2 separate regions of the Homo sapiens genome follow, and region 1 is linked to region 2. The links are contacts of gene promoters, found by promoter capture Hi-C in blood cells and fetal thymus (Javierre and others, 2016). All regions are on one chromosome and are shown on one strand. Each heading gives the region's core, a stretch centred on a gene start or on the middle of the fragment in contact. The rest is flanking DNA. Distances are from core to core; before and after follow the strand shown. Region 1 holds the start of HAGH (hydroxyacylglutathione hydrolase). Region 2 overlaps AXIN1 (axin 1).

Evidence for each region. Contacts are between HindIII fragments. The CHiCAGO score rates a contact against its expected background, and 5 or more counts as called.
Region 1: a contact is called between the fragment with the promoter of HAGH here and a fragment that was not itself captured in region 2, in 3 of 17 cell types (naive CD8 T cells, M1 macrophages and erythroblasts). The highest score is 16.2, in naive CD8 T cells.

Annotation. Positions count from the first base shown.
Region 1 is chr16:1,823,932-1,829,854 of GRCh38, reverse strand. HAGH (hydroxyacylglutathione hydrolase) reads left to right here and starts at 3,030. Exons shown (of 9, transcript NM_005326.6): 1 at 3,030-3,143. The coding sequence starts at 3,068. FAHD1 (fumarylacetoacetate hydrolase domain containing 1) reads right to left here and starts at 2,649. Exons shown (of 1, transcript NM_031208.4): 1 at 945-2,649. The coding sequence starts at 2,616. The coding sequence ends at 1,951. RefSeq lists enhancers at 2,430-2,619, 5,884-5,923 and a silencer at 2,710-3,679. The HindIII fragment of the contact is 18,325 bases long and covers 491-5,923 here.
Region 2 is chr16:338,043-343,951 of GRCh38, reverse strand. All of the region lies in intron 2 of AXIN1 (axin 1), which reads left to right. Among named protein-coding and RNA genes, the nearest start is that of AXIN1, 12 kb to the left of the region's middle. RefSeq lists enhancers at 1,936-2,487, 3,770-4,494. The HindIII fragment of the contact is 169 bases long and covers 1,844-2,012 here.

The DNA of each region.
Region 1 (5,923 bases), core at 1,781-4,280, 1.5 Mb before region 2:
AAAGAAAATTGTATGGTATGAGCAAACTCTATTTAAAAAATTACAATTATATCCACAGACTTGGAAGAACTTGCAATAAATGCTTAACTTTGGCTGTCTCTGGGTAGATGAAATTTTTGGTGTTTTGTTCTAATTGCTAATCTCTATTTTCTGACTCTTCTGTAATTACATGCATTGCCAAGCAATGAAAAAATAATACTAAAAGTAGTTAAGATAGCATGATACTTAATAAAGAAATCCAATTATGGCACTTCCTCATACTATATTATAATTTAAGCATGGGGTTGCAGCATACCTAAGTGTCTGATTCTTCTTATGTATCTACTTACAAGATGCAGCCTGCATTGTGGTCAAAACTTCACGTTCTGGTCTTGGGGGAGCTGGGTTACATCTCGGCTCTGCCACTAAGCTGAGTGACTTTAGCCAGCCTTCGCAGCCTCTAGATCTGTCTTCATCTGAGTAATGGGGATGGTAGTGATCATACTAAGCTTATGGCTTGGTTGCTGGTTACATAACACGTGGAAATACAGAATAAACTGCTTGGCATGGTGCCTAACAGTACTGTGTTCAATACATGGGGACCGTTACTACTCAATCAGATGTCCTAGGCTTTCTTCAGGGGCCAGCAGATGATGTGAACGCGAACAGGAACCCCTGCCGAAGCCCAAAGGACTCCTCCAGGCATTGACAGCTATGCTGTGCATCTTGCCTGGATGTTTTTTCAGAGGAGGGTGCAGGCAAGAGCAAAAGCAGCAGTCCCAGGCTATTCAACTTCCACAAAGCCTCCTTATCTCCGGTTGGGAAGTACAGTTGCTGATTAACTGTGTTAACACAGCACAGTGCTCAGAAGGCCAAAGGTCAAAGACTAAGGTCTGAAGCCCCACAAGGAGGAAATATCCCTCCTCGTCATTACTGGGGGGAAAAAAATTACCCTTGTAAGCCACTTAGAAGGGAGCACCTTTATTTGGAAAACAGTAATTTCAAAATCATCTCCCGAACTCAGAATCGATGGGTCTGGGTAGATACCCTAAGTAAACAGGTGAAATCTTCATTACTTGTTCACTTATTAAGTAAAATTTTAAATTAACCGATTATGTACAGGAGTGTTTTTCACATTTCCTGATAAGAATCACTTGGAATGCCCTGTAAACACAGCTTCACTGGAGATTAATCCTATCAAATTGATTCAGCAAGTCCGAGATGGGCCAGTAATTTGTGGAGATTTTTATTTTTACAAATGCTTCCTGATGATGACCAAATCTAAGAAAATTTGGTAAACAACGGAAAGTTATCTGGAACATAACTTTCAGTTTTCTCTGCAGTTTTTAAGTGCTGAACTACTGATCATCCTAGAGATAACCCACTGAAAAGTCTTCTCTAATCCAGTTTTACAAAAGGAAAGTCTTTTTAACATTTGGTTTGATAAAATGTTTTCCGAAGAAATACTTTACTTGCCTGTTTTCATTTCTGGCCCACCCGTTCTACTTCACGTTTTCTTGAAGGGTTCATCTTCTATGAGTTGAGGCATAGCAATCTAATCATTTTTAAAATAAATGGTTTCTTTTTTTTTTTTTTTTTTTGAGACGGAGTCTCGCTGTTGCCCAGGAGTACAGTGGCGCAATCTCAGCTCACTGTAAGCTCCGCCTCCCGGGTTCAATTGATTCTCCTGCCTCAGCCTCCAGAGTAGCTGGGACTACAGGCGCCCGCCACCACGCCCGGCTAATTTTTTGTATTTTTAGTAGAGACGGGGTTTCACCCTGTTAGCCAAGATGGTCTGGATCTCCTGACGTCGTGAGCCGCCCGCCTCGGCCTCCCAAAGTGCTGCGATTACAGGCGTGAGCCACCGCGTCCGGCCAATAAATGGTTTCTAATTAAAGGATTGTGACATTTAATAGCCGTTGCTTGCTCTTGTCTTGCTCCCTTCTCTCTCGAAACTTGTTAAGAAATAACTCAATATTCTGGCTTTTCCACTTTAAATGTCATACTGACCAGCCCGTGTATGCCAGCCTCGATCTCATCGTTTTCTTTAACCGGTCCAACTCCCTTTGGCGTCCCAGTCAAGATAATATCTCCTTCTTCCAAGGTTATGATCTTAGAAACATAGCTGATGATGTAGGGGATGGAAAAAATCATGGAGGATGTCTCACCCTCCTGTCTGAGTTCGCCGTTGACCTTGAGCCAGAGCTTCAGCTTGTGAGGGTCAGGGATCTTCTCCTTGGGCACGAACGCGCTGACCGGGCAGGACGCCGTGAAGCTCTTCGCCAGAGTCCAGGGCAGCCCCTTCTTCTTGCACTCGTCCTGCACGTCCCGGGCGGTCATATCCAGGCACAGGGCATAGCCGCCCACGTAGTCCATGGCCGCAGCCTCGGGGACTGCGCGGCAGCGCTTGCCCATCACCACGCCCAGCTCCAGCTCGTGGTGCAGGTTGCGAGTGTACGCGGGCATGAGGATGGGCGAGCCCTCGGGCGCGTAGGCCGTGGACGGCTTCAGGAACAGCACGGGCTCGCTCAACACCGCGCTGCGCATCTCCCTGACGTGGTCCGCGTAGTTCCTCCCCACGCAGACGATGTTCTTTCCCCACTCCCAGAAGCGGGACAATGGCCTGGATGCTGCCATGATTCCCATCAAGTGCCCCTGTAGTCACGTGGGCTGGGCCGGTCAGCTGATGCCTACGGCATCCCGGAGAGGACCAACTGCCTCGGAACGCTGTCCCCCGCAGCGACGGCCCGTTCCACCTCGCGATCTGCCGGGTACCCGGGCGGCGTGGCGCTCGGCCTCCAGGGATCCACTGTGCGGTGCCAAAAAAGAGGCGGAGGCTCGCGGCACAGCTCTCCCGGCGCAGCTCTCGGGCCGCCGCCGCCGCTCCCAGGCCCGTCTCCCGGCCCGTGGCAGTCGGGGCTCGCGGACAAAACAAGTTGAGCGCGAGCGCGTTGATTGGTTGGCGGACGGTGCGAGGTGGACGCTGATTGGCTGAGGGCAGCGCGAGGCGGGCGCTGATTGGCTGCGACGCGCCGACGCCGGTGTTTTGCAGTCCTGGGCAGCTCGGCAGTCCAGCCCGGCCCGGGTCATGGTGGTGGGCCGAGGGCTGCTCGGCCGCCGCAGCCTCGCCGCGCTGGGAGCCGCCTGCGCCCGCCGAGGCCTCGGTGGGTGCGGCGGGGCGGTGCGGGCCGGGGGACGCGGGCCTGGCGGGGCGGGCAGCGGGCGGCGCCGGGCCGTCGTTTGGCGACCGCTGACGCGGTGTCTGTTGCGCAGGTGCCTAAGGCCGCGCTGCCGGGCTCGAGCGGAGGCGGCGCAGGCGCTGAGGCTGGCGCGGAGCGGGCGCGGGGCCGCGGGTGCGGAAAGCGCTAGGTAAGCAGGGCCAGGCCTGCGTCCGCCGCGGCCTCCACGCTCGGGCTGGGCCGGCCGCGCCCCTGACGCCTCCAGGGCATCGCGTCCTGCCCGGGCCGGCGCCGAGGAGAGCCTGGGGCGCGGCTCTGAGGCGCAGCGGGCAGGGCCCCGGGACGCCTGGCCCACCCCGCACCTGCTGCCCCGCTGCAAGGACCGCGGTCTCGCGGCGCCGCCTGCGGTGGTGGAGCTGCCCGCCCGGCGCCGGAGCCCCCGTCTGGGGACCCGGCGTGTCATTCGCCCGAGGTGGTCGCGCGGCCGGGCCAGGCCAGCGCCCCGGGCGGGTGCGCAGCGCAGGGCACTGGGCGGGCGGAGGCGCAGACAGGGAGGCGTCCCTGGCGGTTTCCAGATCTCGCCGAAAGCTGTCAAGGCTCTGCAGGGGGTAGAATGTCGCCATTGCTAAGGAAAGGACATGGATTTTGAGGTCCTCAGAATTACAGTTTTAGGGACATTCATAAGGGTCCAGGCAGAGAGTTCCAGCGGGACTGTGTGCATCGGCAGGGCGTGCGTACCCCATTCTAAGGGAGGCCCCAGCCCCCGTATTTGGTGCCGCCCAGTTCAAGGGAAGCAAGATGCTGTGAAACTTCCTGATTTAAAAAAGAAGTGCAGTGACGCACGCCTGTCATCCCAGCACTTTGGGAGGCCGAGGCGGGAGGATCGCTTGAGTCCAGGAGTTCCAGACCAGCCTGGCAACATGTTGAGACCTCATCGCTACAAAAACTAAACAAAATCAGCCGGGCGTGGTGGCACACAACTGTAGTCTCAGTCACTTTGGAGGCTGAGGTGGGAGGATCGCTTGAGTCCAGGAGGTCGAGGCTGCAGTGACCCTTGATCGCACCACTGCACTGTAGCCTAGGGGACAGAGTGAGACCATATCTCAATTTTTTTTTGTTTTTGGGGCCAAACCGAACATGTTTCTGGACTTGGTCCAGGCCCCAGGCTGCAGGTCCTTGACCTGTTTGTACAAAGTATTACAGTTACAAAACAGCAAGCCGGGAACATTTGCCAGGCAGTGCTGGGCTGAGTGATATGGAAAGGGAATACGGTTTCTGCTGGTGTTGGCACCAGCTGCGTCTTTCCTCAGAAATAAAGGCACCTCCCTGGGTTGTCAGCTTCTTCAGGAGGCTGTGATGGTCTCCAGGGGAGGCTGAGCACCAGTTGTAAATGACATTTTCTTCGCCTGGGCAGTGCAGTGGCCAATCTCGGCTCACTGCAACCTCTGCCTCCCGGGCTCAAGCGAGTCTCCTGCCTCAGCCTCCTGAGTAGCTGGGACTACAGGCGCTCGCCACCACGCCCAGCTAATTTTTGTATTTTTTAGTAGAGACAGGGTTTCACCATATTGGTCAGGCTGGTCTCGAACTCCTGACCCCGCGATCCGCCCGCCTCGGCCTCCCAAAGTGCTGGGATGACAGGCGTGAGCCACCGCACGTGGGCAGTATTTTTGTTTGTAATGTTCTGCTCCTTGTTTGTAATGGAGCTCCTTTCCAGGAGGACGCCCGGCACTCGGAATCCTGTCACAACCCTTCTGCACCCCACCTGCAGCCCCCAGCACCCACACTCTGCTTGTTGTGCTCCTTGGGCTGGGGTGGTGCTGAGGCTAAGGGGAAGGGGAATAACACAGGAAGCTGCTCATATAGAAATCTTGGTATTATTGTTCCTGAGGAGAATGATCTGGAAAATGCCCAGCTGGTTGTCAGGCGGGTAATAGGATATCTTTGTGCAGTGATTGAAACTATAGTTTGGGCAGTTTCCCCGGCTGTGGAAATAAGGTCGGATTCCGCATTTCGGTGGGCCCTGGAGACGCGTGTGTCTGTCAGTTGGTGGCTGCTGCCCATTTCTGGATCCCTTTTGGGAGAAGCCCCTGCCGTGGCACCTACCCCAGGACTGCACTGTCCTCTGCCACCTTCTGTGGTTTCTTCCCCGTGTAGAGCGGAACTGAAGGTATTGTCGGGGCCCCCAGGTATTTTTAGATTTAGTAGGAGTTTCATTGCTGAAAATATTTTTGCATTGGTCGACTGGGTGGCAGACACTTTTGTCCCTTGGTCACCCACTCCTCCCAGCTCTTGGGCCTTCTGGGCCCCTGTGGCAGAGTCCTTTGGGTCAGTTGGATGGTGGTTTTGTGTCCTCCACACTTGAATCTGGGGGCAGTTGTGGCCAACTTTCCGTCTCAAAGGAACTGCTGATTTTTGTGCATATCTCAGATTCGTGCTGTTCAAGAGCAAGTATTGTTTGTTTGTTTTTTTTTTTTTTTGAGACTGTCTCACTCTGTTGCCCAGGCTGGAGTGCAGTAGGGCGATCTTGGCTCACTGAAACTTTCACCTCCCGGATTCAAGCAATTCTCCTGCCTCAGCCTGCCGTCAAGTATTGGTTCTTTCTGGCTAGAGGCTGAGAAGGGCTGTAACTGCATGGAACGCAGGCTCGCTTAGTCAGTGGTGGCAGCACAGCTTGCTGGAGGGCAGATGGCCAGGCGGGGGCACCCCTAGTCTGTGTTCCCTTCTTCACATTCTGTCCCTGAGTCCGGGGTGTGAATAATCCAGCA
Region 2 (5,909 bases), core at 679-3,178:
CTCGGCTCACTGCAACTTCTGCCTCCTGGGTTTAAGTGATTCTCCTGCCTCCCGAGTAGCTGGGATTACAGGTGTGTGCTACCATGCCTGGCTAATTTTTGTATTTGTGGTAGAGACAGCGTTTCGCCACGTTGGCCAGGATGGTCTCGAGCTCCTGGACTCCAGTGATCTCAGCCTCCCAAAGTGCTGGGATTACGGGTGGGAGCCACTGCACCTGGCTGGTTATTTTTTTTGCTTGTTTTTTTGTTTGAGATGGAGTCTCGCTCTGTCGCCCAGGCTGGAGTGCAGTAGTGCAATCTCAGCTCACTGCAACCTCTGCCTCCTGGGTTCAAGTGAGTCTCCTGCCTCAGCCTCCCGAGTAGCTGGGATTACAAGTGTGAGCTACCATGCCCAGCTAATTTTCTGTATTTTTAGTAGAGATGGGGTTTTACCACGTTGGCCAGTCTGGTCTCGAACTCCTTTCCTCAAGAGATCTGCCCGCCTCAGCCTCCCAAAGTGCTGGGATTCCAGGTGTGAGCCACTGCGCCCGGCCCCGGCTGGTTATTTTTAAGATGGGACTGAAGTTGAGGGCTGGGCTGCAGGAGGAAAATGAGCTCCGTTCTGATTTCCACTGTTGGAACCCCAGTGCCTCCCTCCCAGCCACTCTTCAGTTCTTGGCTGCGAGCAGTAGCTTTGCTGTCTGTCCTTGGTTTGCTGTATTTGTAATAAGGAACCTTTGCTATGAAATTAGTGGGATACATTGGCTTCTCCTGTCTAATTTTGTGTAGCTCTGTCTACACAGTTTGGGTCCTAACTTGACTGCTCTGGGGCTGCTGGTGGCAGAGGACCCTGGGGCTTGGGAGTCGTGTCTGCGGTTGAATCCTCTCTGTGGGAGGTGGCCTGTGGTGCAGCCTTGTGGCTTGAAGATCTCTGATGTTGGAATGGTTGCTTGTCAGCACAGACAGGGCATGAAGTCCAGGCTGCGTTCCTCACATTTAGACCATTCTCTTTGTCCTGCCAGGTGTAGGTGAGGGTGCACTAGGTTGGAAGTCGTGGAAACCCACCCACCTGAGCCCAACCCTGAAGGGCACTGTTGAGGCAGAGCCTCAGGTGTGCCTTAGGGCCTGGCACCTTTGCTTTGTGCCATTCTGACTTTGCCTGCCTGGTGGGCGACTTCGTGGGCTTTGTGTTGGAGGTGGCTGCTGCAGTGACCTTGGGCTCTGGGCTCCCTTGTTTACAGATGCTTCCCGCAGCTCTGACGGATGGGCCCGCTGTTGCTCTGAGGAGGGCACGTGTGCCGCTGTGTCCCGTCTGTCTCAGCACAGTCACGGTGCGTGCGCTGGGGGCTGTGCAGCAGGGTCACTCCTGAAGGAAAGTGGGTTCTCCACCCAGACAGACGGCTGCTCCCCAGTGGGGAGCTGGGGGCAGTCCTCCAAAGGAAGGCTGCGGGTAATGCAAAGGGAAAAGGAGAGTGGGTACTGAACAGGCGGCTGGTGAGCATTGCTACCACAGCAGGGCCTGGAGCTTAGGCCTCACGTGTTAGGGGATGCATATCCTGTGGAGAGCCGGTTAGTCGTCCCGGTGTGTCCGGAATTGGTGGGTTCTTGGTCTCACTGACTTCAAGAATGAAGCCGCGGACCCTTGCCGTGAGTGTTACAGTTCCTAAAGGCGGCCTGTCCGGAGTTTGTTCCTTCTGACGTTCGGAGGTGTTCGGAGTTTCTTCCTTCTGGTGGGTTCGTGGTCTCACTGGCTTCAGGAGTGAAGCTGCAGATCTTCGCGGTGAGTGTTACAGCTCATAAAGGCAGTGTGGACCCAAAGAGTGAGCAGCAGCAAGACTTACTGGAAAGAGAGAAAGAACAAAGCTTCCACACTATGGAAGGGGACCCGAGCGAGTTACCACTGCTGGCTCCCGCAGCCAGCTTTTATTCTCTTATCTGGCCCCACCCACATCCTGCTGATTGGTAGAGTCCAGTGGTCTGTTTTGACAGGGCGCTGATTGGTGCGTTTACAATCCCTGAGCTAGACACAAAGCTTCTCCACATCCTCACCAGATTAGCTAGATACAGAGTGTCCACACAAAGGTTCTCCAAGTCCCCACCAGAGTAGCTAGATACAGAGTGTCGATTGGTGCATTCACAAACCCTGAGCTAGACACAGAGTGCTGATTGGTGTGTTTACAAACCTTGTGCTAGATACAGAGTGCCGATTGGTGTATTTACAGTCCCTGAGCTAGACATAAAGGTTCTCCACGTCCCCACCAGAATCAGGAGCCCAGCTGGCTTCACCCAGTGGATCCCGCACCGGGGTTGCAGGTGGAGCTGCCTGCCAGTCCCGTGCCGTGCGCCCGCACTCCTCAGCCCTTGGGTGGTCAATGGGACCGGGCGCTCGTCGGGGAGACTCGGTCCGCACAGGAGCCCACGGAGGGGGTGGGGGGCTTAGGCATGGCGGGCTGCAGCTCCCGAGCCCTGCCCTGCAGGAAGGCAGTTAAGACCCAGCGAGAAATTGAGCGCAGCTCCGGTGGGCCGGCACTGCCGGGGGACCCAGCACACCCTCCGCAGCCGCTGGCCCGGGTGCTAAGCCCCTCATTGCCCGCGGCCGGCAGGGCTGGCCGGCTGCTCTGAGTGCCGGGCCCACCAAGCCCACGCCCACCCGGGACTCCAGCTGGCCTGCAAGCGCATGCAGCCGCGGTTCCCGCTCGCGCCTCTCCCTCCACACCTCCCCGCAAGCTGAGGGAGCCGGCTCCGGCCTTGGCCAGCCCAGAAAGGGGCTCCCACAGTGCAGTGGTGGGCTGAAGGGCTCCTCAAGTGCCACCAAAGTGAGAGCCCAGGCAGAGGAGGCGCTGAGAGCGAGCGAGGGCTGTGAGGACTGCCAGCACGCTGTCACCTCTCACCGGGGTGGAATTTGCGTGGAGGAACGTGCCAGGAGGGCCAGCCCTCGGGTGCTGACCCCTCTGTCCTGGAGGCTACTTTGCCTGCATCTCTGCCACAGTCGCTCATCCCCTGCGGTGGGGCTGCTGCGGTCCAGCACGGCCACAGGCATCCAGTTCCCCTGTGGGACGCCTGAGTGCGGGTCCTTGTTGGTCCGTGTGTGAGCCGCGTGGTGGTTTCACATACTTGATTTGAGGAAAGTGAAGTGTTCTGCTTAGGTCTTTGTCTCAGCCTAGGAAAGAGCTCCATTCCTGGCCCTTTTCTGTGTTTGTCCCACTCACCCACTGTCATTTTGAGCTCCTGGGCCAAGGTTTCATGGGGTTCCTCCCTGGCTCCCCCGCTCTGCCTCTGTGGGAACACTTTCTGCACCCTCGGGTCTTTGTTCCCATTGTCAGTGGAACTTTGAACAGAGCTGGCTGGTTCACCTCGTCATTTCAGCGGTGTGGATCAGCAGGCAGGTTCTGCTGTTGACTGAGTGTTGGGCGGGAGGCCCAGGGCCTGCACTCCCTGGCTGGCGGGCTCAGGCTCTGCTTCCCTTCAGGGTGGCTTGGCCCACCAGGTGGCCTTCAGGGCTGGCCTTGCATGCCCCTGCCAGGTCCGCTTGGTCAAGCCCGCAGTCTCCTCGCCGCTGGCCCCTTCTGTTGACTGCCCTGACCTTCCTTGATGACTGGGGACAGGGTCTTCCTGGATATTTTCGTGTGTCTTCCCGGGCCAGTCCAGTGATGCACTTGTGGATAGGGCTGGTCAATGTGGCTGTGGCCAGAGAGTGGACAACAGACATGTCCACAGCAGGAGCAACATGGTGGCTTGTCTTGGGCTGCTGGTTCCTGGAGCTGCTCAGAGGACCGGTGGGTCCTTTCGAGGTGGGCAGCCAGCCCTTGCCGTTCAGGTTCCCGCAGGGGTGCGTGAGGAACCGTCGGACCTGCTCATTAGTTTATTGACTGTGTTTCTGGTAATGGCCTAAAAGGTTAAGAGAAGAAATGGTTAAAAAAAAAAAGAAGAAGAAGAAGAAGAAAAAGAAAGGGCCCAAAATGTGTACAGAGTTGTCTGTGGAGGAGTGGTTTTGGGTTTCCATGTCCGTTGGACCTCAGGCGGTGGTGCTGTTGAAGGTGCCCGGCTGCAGAGGGGCTGTGTTGCAAGGGTGAACTCTGCTTCCTGTGCAAAGGGTGTGGCCCAGGGTGGGGTCGCCCCCAGGCTTGTCTTGTTAAGGGGACCTCTGCTGTGGTGCAGAGGGGGCAGAGGTGCTTGTGAGCCATACTGCCCCTTGCGTGGGCTCCCCTTGCCTGGGTGTGGGGGGTTTCTAGTCTCCTTTGGGGTATTTGCTTCCCCTGTTTGAGCAGATCTGAAGAGAATTTTTTTTTTTTTTTAGACAGTCTTGCTCTGTCACACAGGTTGGAGTGCAGTGGCACCATCTCGGCTTACTGCAGCCTCCGCCTCCCAGGTTGAAGCAGTTCTCCTGCCCCAACCTCCCCAGTAGCTGGGATTATAGGCACCTGCCGCCATGCCTGGCTAATTTTTTTTTTTTTTTTTTTTTTGAGATGGAGTCTCGCTCTATCGCCAAGGCTGGAGTGCAGTGGCACAATCTTGGCTCACTGCAAGCTCCACCTCCTGGGTTCAAGCACTTCTCCTGCCTCAGCCTCCTCAGCAGCTGGGACTACAGGCGCGTGTCACCACGCCCGGCTAATTTTTTTTTTTTTTGTATTTTTAGTAGAGACGGGGTTTCACCTTGTTAGCCAGGATGGTCTCGATCTCCTGACCTTGTGATCCGCCTACCTCAGCCTCCCAAAGTGCTGGGATTACAGGTGTGAGCCACCACGCCCGGCCTTTTTTTTTTTTTTTTTTTTTTTTTGAGACCAGGCTGGCTGGTTTTGAACTCCTGACCTCAAGTGATCTGCCCGTCTCGGCCTCCCAAAGTGCAGGGGTTGCAGGTGTGAACCACCACACCCTGCCCAAAGGGAAATTTTTTTTGTTTGTGGATGTCCAAGGAAAACTTTAAAAATGATTCCTGGCCAGGCACGGTGGCTCATGCCTGTAATCCCAGACTCTGCTGGACTCTGCTGGTGCTCTGCTGGACTCTGTCCCCACAGCACCAGCTTGCATCCCACTTTTTTTTTTTTTCCCCAAGATGGAGTTTCGCTCTTGTCACCCAGGCTGGAGTGCAATGGCGCGATCTCAGCTCACTGCAACCTCTGCCTCTCAGGTTCAAGTGATTCTCTAGTCTCAGCCTCCCGAGTAGCTGGGATTACAGGTGCATGCCCCCACTCCTGGCTACTTTATGTATTTTTAGTAGAGACAAGGTTTCGCCATGTTGGCCAGGCTGGTCTCGAAATCTTGACCTTAAGTGGTCCGCCCACCTTGGCCTCCCAAAGTGCTGGAATTATAGGCGTGAGCCACTGTGCCCAGTCCATCTTGTATTTTTATGCACCTGTCAGTGGGCAAGGACTCCAAACATATTTTTTCTCTTCCTTAGCCACGTAAAGCTCCATAGTCTCAGACAGGTTTCAGCAGAGTCCACGAAAGTATCTGTAGTTGCCTGTCAGGCCAAAGGATTCTGGAACCGAGAGGCCCCTTTGCCTGGGCGGACCTCAGTCCTGAGCTGTGTGGGTGGGTTGTGAAAGGGAAGCACTTTGCAGACAGCCAGTGGCAGACGTGCCGATGAGACTGTGTGCCTGGCCCTGGTGCTGGTGCTGACCTGCAGCAGCTGTTTCTGGAGGGCTTGGGGTAAGTGTCCCTGCGGGCCCCTGTGGCCCTTCTTGGAACTGTGCCCTAGCCGTGACTGGCCGCCTGGCACCCCAGCCCATTCTCACATTTTGCGCCAGTGTCACAGATTTGAATTGACGCACACGCTCCGGTTCTGCTCATCCTTGTCAAACGCAGACGTCATTTGTAGCAGCGTACCCTGCAGTTATCGGAGGTGGGGGCCAGGCTGGGCTATGGTGGCTGTCAGGGAGAGAGGGCCGCCTGTTGGCTCTTTCTTGGGCCCCTCCGCTGCCTACTTGTGCG